Linked DNA regions of Homo sapiens: region 1 is linked to region 2. Evidence: promoter capture Hi-C in human tissues and cell types (Jung and others, 2019). All regions are on one chromosome and are shown on one strand. The core of a region is centred on a gene start or on the middle of the fragment in contact, and the rest is flanking DNA. Distances in the headings are between cores, read along the strand shown.

Region 1 (2,774 bases), core at 143-2,642, 160 kb after region 2:
CTCACAACCAATCAGGTTGGTTGTGGGCCAAGTCTTCATTTGCGTGGGAGTATTACTTTGTAACTTCACTTCAGCCTCTAATTGGTCACTTTCCACAACTAATCAGACGTTTGCATTCTGATTGGTCCCTTCCAACCAATCAGACTGATCACAGGCCACTACTTCATATACATAGGGTGTACACCAAGTAACCAATGGAAACTTCTAAAGGGTATTTAAACCCCAGAAAGTTCTGTAACTGGGCCCTTGAGCTGCTTGCTCGGCCTGCTCCCACCCTGTGGAGTGTGTTTTCATTTTCAATACATCTCTGCTTTTGTTGCTTCTTTCTTTTCTTGCTTTGTTTGTGAGTTTTGTCCAATTCTTTGTTCAAAGCGCCAAGAACCTGGACACCCTTCACTGGTAACACTTGGGTCTGAGAGACCTAGAGAAAAAGAGAAATGACTCATGAACACTTAACTTTGTCAGGTAAAGAAACCTGGCAGAGTGGGTATCAAGTTTTCCCCAGTCTCACCAATCAGAAAAACCATCTTTCTCCCAAGAAAAGAGATGAGTGAGCAGGGAAGGGAGGGGCTGTAGTACTTTCCCCAAGAAGGCCATAATTCTAGATACACATGGAGAAACAATTATATTCCATTTATCCACTAAAAATAATACACAAGTTTTATTTTTCCCCCTTTCATATCAAGCACTGGTTAGAGATGACCCAGAAATCCAAAGATGGAAAGAACTTTACTGAGGTAAAGTTTATTTATGTTCATCATTTGGATGATATTAACCCTCTTTTTCAATCGGAAGCAAAGGATTTTTAGATGGGTTAATTCAGTCTCTCTGAGGAGCTGATACAGTTTGCTGTAAATGTGTTTTGCTTCACAGACAATAGTGCTGTGATGGAATGGTTGGTCCATGAGTCTGTGAATAAATGAATAAATCACACACCTGTTAAATTGTGTGCTGCACATAATCAAGGGGTTGTGATGTTGTTTTTTTTTAAAGCAAAAATGTTGCTTCTCTCCATTTGCTGCTCCTAAACAATTTCTAAATGTAGTGTCTTGTATTTTCCCCATTTAGTGAAGTTCAAAGTACTTCATGGTGCTCACACATGTGAATTCTAAATCTATGTATTGTCCCCATCAATTCTCAGAGTTGCAAATATAAGCACTGTGATTTGGCATAGGAGCAAATTAAAATATACCAACATTCTAATCCTTCCCCAGGTCATATTGTAAGTCAGGGTTGGAGAAGTAGGAGTGATAGAGTCTGAAAGGATACCATGAAGCATGCCACTCACCTGGGCAGGCACCCCGTGGGAGTGTATAAGGATGTAGGATTCTGGAGGAACCCACAAAAGTCCTGGAGCCTTAGGCTCCAATTCAAGAACACCTACCATGAATGACATCTCCATGCCAGGAACGTGACCACTGTGTCCACTGGCCAGGCCAACAGAAGGAGGAAACCATGAAGCTGCTGGGTTTTAAAACTTATGCATGGATAGCTTCCAAGCTCTCAGTTGTATCATGTAGTTTTAAAAAAAATGTCCTCTTCCTGAGTGGGGAACTGCAATCCATTATGAATGAAGACACTGCATTGTTATCTAAGTAGACAATAATGACAATATTGATTTTTATTTACTTTGTACCAATTATCTCCCAAAATATTCAGAGAAAAGGGTACAGACTCTGATGCTTCAAATTCATGCTCCATATTCTAGTTGTTTGTCATTGGTCAAATGACTGAGCCTACCTGAATTTGTTTACTAAACCAAAAAAAGGGGAGGCATAAAATTTTTATAGAGTAGAGGTGTTGAGGGAATTAAATGAGTGTGGTGTGTGTGTGTGTATGTGTAAAACGTGTAGAAGTTATAGGCTTTTACTGGGTTTGGCCACTTTGTGTACTACTTAGTTTCTTGGTCTACCTGGTTCATATATATTTGTCTATGGCAGCATATAAAGACATTCTTTAACTTGATGTATGATAGAAAGAGAGAAAATGAGAAGGAAAAAAGGAAAACGAAAGGAAAGCAGAACTGAAAATGACTGAGTGTGGTATCACTAAGAACTACATCCAGTTGGTTATATAGCTGTCTTAGCCACAGTGCATTGCTAAACTCTGTTATATTACAATGCAGGTCTAATATAAATCTACAATTCCCCCTCACTAACAACTGAAGAAGACTCTCATGAGAAAGGTTAAACGAGTGATCTATAGTCTGGGGTAAAATTTCCTTTCCTTGTATTAATTCAGCTGAGCCTTCACTGCATGCTCTGAGAGGGTGCATTTTTCTCAGCCCACCCGTTTTCAGTGTTTCCTCATTCACTTGCTCCAAGTTCACTTTACTTTGAGAAGAGCCCTTATCACTGTGTTGCTAGTACATTGAGCCAAAACTCTAGCCACTATTTACTTGGAATGCCATTGAAATACTTTCTTATTTTTGTTTTCCCAAAGCCTTCTTTCTCTTTCTTATCTGAACTTTCTATGTCATCACTGTGGAGCTGAGGAGATTTTGTTTTTGTTTTTGTTTTTGTTTTCGTCCTCTGCTCCTTTTGATGGAAGGAGTAATTTCCATATTGGTTTCGATTTGAACAGTGGATTTTCTCACTGGGTAAAACAAGAATGCCATGACACTTTCTGTGTAATTTCTGTATATTAAAGGTATCTATGGCAGTAGCAGACCGAGGCTACCCTCCTTAACCATTTACATCCAATGCTGAGTGTGATTCTAAAGCACTTAAAGTGATACTGAAAACTATTACTTTTAAGTGGCATTTTCAGAGGTT
Region 2 (2,953 bases), core at 438-2,937:
CTAATAGCTAGTCTCATCTGACAGAAGAATAAGGAGGAAGGAATTTCTCTTGAATAGGCAATTGGTCTTCCCAGAAATTAAGTCAGGAAGCAACTGGCTCTTGGATAGCCCCTGGGTCGCTGCTATGCAGATACTTGGAAAAGGGGTATTCATTCCTACTAGGCAGGGGAAAAGTTTGCATGCCTGCAGTCAGAAGTCAGTTAGACAGACATTCAAAGCCTCAAAGAGAATGCTGGTTATGTAACTCAGAACAAACTCTCCACTCCTAGGCAAGTCTCTGGGAATTTAGAGTTGACATGACAACCTCAGGAGGAAAAACACCTTGTTTAATGCTGTACTACGTGACCTACACCGGTCACTGACCAGAGCAAGGAGAAGCCACCCAGAATCACTGGTTAATGATCAAAATATTAAGCTATGGTCTATTTTAAGCACCTGGAGGAAAACTCAACACAGGAATTGGTTTCTTTCCCAGCTCAGGCCAACTGATAGAACATGCTGGTGGGCCACACGCCAAAAGTAGGCAGAGCCTTCATTCATGGATTTATTTAAGAGCCACCAAACTTTCAGGCTACTCAATATGATTATATAGGAAATCATTTGTCTTTTACATCTATATTCTGAAATAATAATATTTATTAAACACTTTCTACATACCAGGCACTTTGCTAAGCACTTTAATAAATTTCATTTAATCTTCACAGCAATACTAGTCTACCCCCATTTTACAGATTAGGAAACTGGCTCTGAGAAAAATATACAACTGGTTAATGATGAAGCAGGTAAATGCACCAAGGATTACTTGACTCTAGAGACTATGATCTTGACCACTACACTTTATTGCATCTTTTGATTAAAATATGCTTATAATGGGATATGACACCAATTTGCCATTCTGGACAGAAATTATTTCCTCCAAGTTTCTAGGAAATGGGAAGCTCAAGTTTGTTTTGTCAGGTACCAGTAACACAAAAAAACCTAAATTACCTGTTCATATTTTTTTCTATTATCCAAAGTCCCAAACAATAGAAACCCAATGAGAATTGAATCTTAACTTTTTGAATCTTGTTTTAGTTATTAAAAAATGACATAAACTTAATGATTCTTCCCTGAGACAGTGGAAATATCTAGGAGACTTCTAAGTTTCTTGTATTAGAATTCAAAGATCACGATTCTTCTGCTAGATAACCACTACTACGGTCCTTTTGTTTCCACCACAGAATGGAACGCAGTGCATCTTGGAGCAGCTAATAAAACTCTGTAGTGTAACTAGATGAACAATTACAAGTAAGAATACACTCTTAGAGATTTTTTTAAAGTTCGCAGATAATTTTCAAAACAAACATTGCTCATCCCTCTTTCACTGTCTTACCAGAATGTTAGGTATTTTCCTCATTTTTGCTAAGTTCTTTTATTTGAAATATATCAGCATGTTCCTTCAAGACAACCTTTTACTAAGTATTTGTTTGGTGCATATGCACAATACATAGTATATGCACTAAATCAATTTAAAAGATCAGTCACTAATTTTTTCCTAACGGGAAAATAAAGTGTCAACTAAAAACCACCCATATTTGATTTATTCATGCCCACTTTTAAGTTCTAGGTATAAACAACTTAGAAAGAAATCCTTACCTTACTTAGAAATTCATACCGTCTAGTCAAATGCTAAGTAGTCCATAAGAATAAACATTGAATTCAGCTATGAGTTTCTCAGAGAGTAAAGTCCAAGGTACGTTTGATTTGCTACCTATGACAGACCAAGGAAATCACATCATCACCAAGGACTCCCTCCTTCAAACTAAGCCCCACCCAGATCTGAGTCAGTACAGATCTGAAAAGTCCAGGAATTAGAAGATGCAGTTTCAGACAACATATTGAAACAGCTAAGCATTGAGCTGTGGGAGCAGTGGACTCTGGTTTCCATGCTATGGTGTCAGCTTCACCATCAACATGATACAGGCAACCTCCTGAGGTTGGACTGCCTGTGACCTGTCTAGCTTGCTGCAGAGTTGTAAAGAAAATTGTGTAGCTGGTTGCAGTGGGTGCCAATAGTTCTGTGAGAAAGAACCATAACCCTACACAAAGTTCATCTGCACCTACAATTCCCATTACAGTTCTGGTCGCTAGAACACCCAAGCTTAAACTCAACTTCAGAGAAATAAAGACCTCTCTGAATTCCACATGGAAAGTTGGGCAGTGCCCAGCCTCTATGCTGTCATATCATTTAATCTCTCTCTCCCTCAGTGTCACATGCATGGCATGCATGCACATACAACAGATGCTAAGAGTCATGCTTTACTCACTATTGTATCCCAAACAACTACCACTTACTTACTAGCACATAGTAGCTGGTCAATATCTGTTTGCTGAGTGCATGGGAGCAAAAGTTACAAAGTGAACAAAAATTACCTTAGGAGGACAATAAACAGGACCCTTCTGTCTGGAACAAAGGATGCCATCCAAGCCTTGGCACAGCACACAAATCCCCTGATCATATAATCATAGGGCCCTGTCTAGCTTTATAGCCTTTCGGCATTACTCACCACATCAACGTTAACCTCCTGCCACACATGCACACTCAGGGGAGAGGGCAAAGTACATTTGGGGAACTCCCCCTCCTCTTCCCCATCTCTTCCTTGACTTCCTTCTTCTCTAGTCAGAGTCATCCATAGTGAGCCTTCTGCTGCCCACTGGAAACTGGGTTGAAAGCGCCAGGGCTCTTCCTAGAATCCCCAAAGTCACCCACGCCAACGTTTTCTTTTTTGTTTGTTTTTGTTTTTCGTTTTTTTTTTTTTTTTTTTTTTTGAGACAGAGTCTCTTTCTGTCGCCCAGGCTGGAGTGCAGTGGCACGATCTCGGCTAACTGCAAGCTCTGTCTCCCAGGTTCACGCCATTCTCCTGCCTCAGCCTCCCGAGTAGCTGGGACTTTCAACCCAGTTTCCAGTGGGCAG

What was found. Contacts are between HindIII fragments. The study calls those that stand out against the background at their distance.
Region 1: a fragment that was not itself captured here is called in contact with the fragment with the promoter of HHLA2 in region 2 in 1 of the 25 tissues and cell types used here (lymphoblastoid cells).

What each region holds. Positions count from the first base shown.
Region 1 is chr3:108,133,961-108,136,734 of GRCh38, reverse strand. LINC01215 (long intergenic non-protein coding RNA 1215) reads right to left here. Exons shown (of 2, transcript NR_110030.1): 2 at 1-421. Among named protein-coding and RNA genes, the nearest start is that of LINC01215, 10 kb to the right of the region's middle. RefSeq lists an enhancer at 23-162 and a silencer at 2,653-2,774. The HindIII fragment of the contact is 7,983 bases long and covers 1-2,774 here.
Region 2 is chr3:108,295,282-108,298,234 of GRCh38, reverse strand. It overlaps HHLA2 (HHLA2 member of B7 family), which reads right to left and starts at 1,687. Exons shown (of 10, transcript NM_001282556.2): 1 at 1,636-1,687. The HindIII fragment of the contact is 3,171 bases long and covers 904-2,953 here.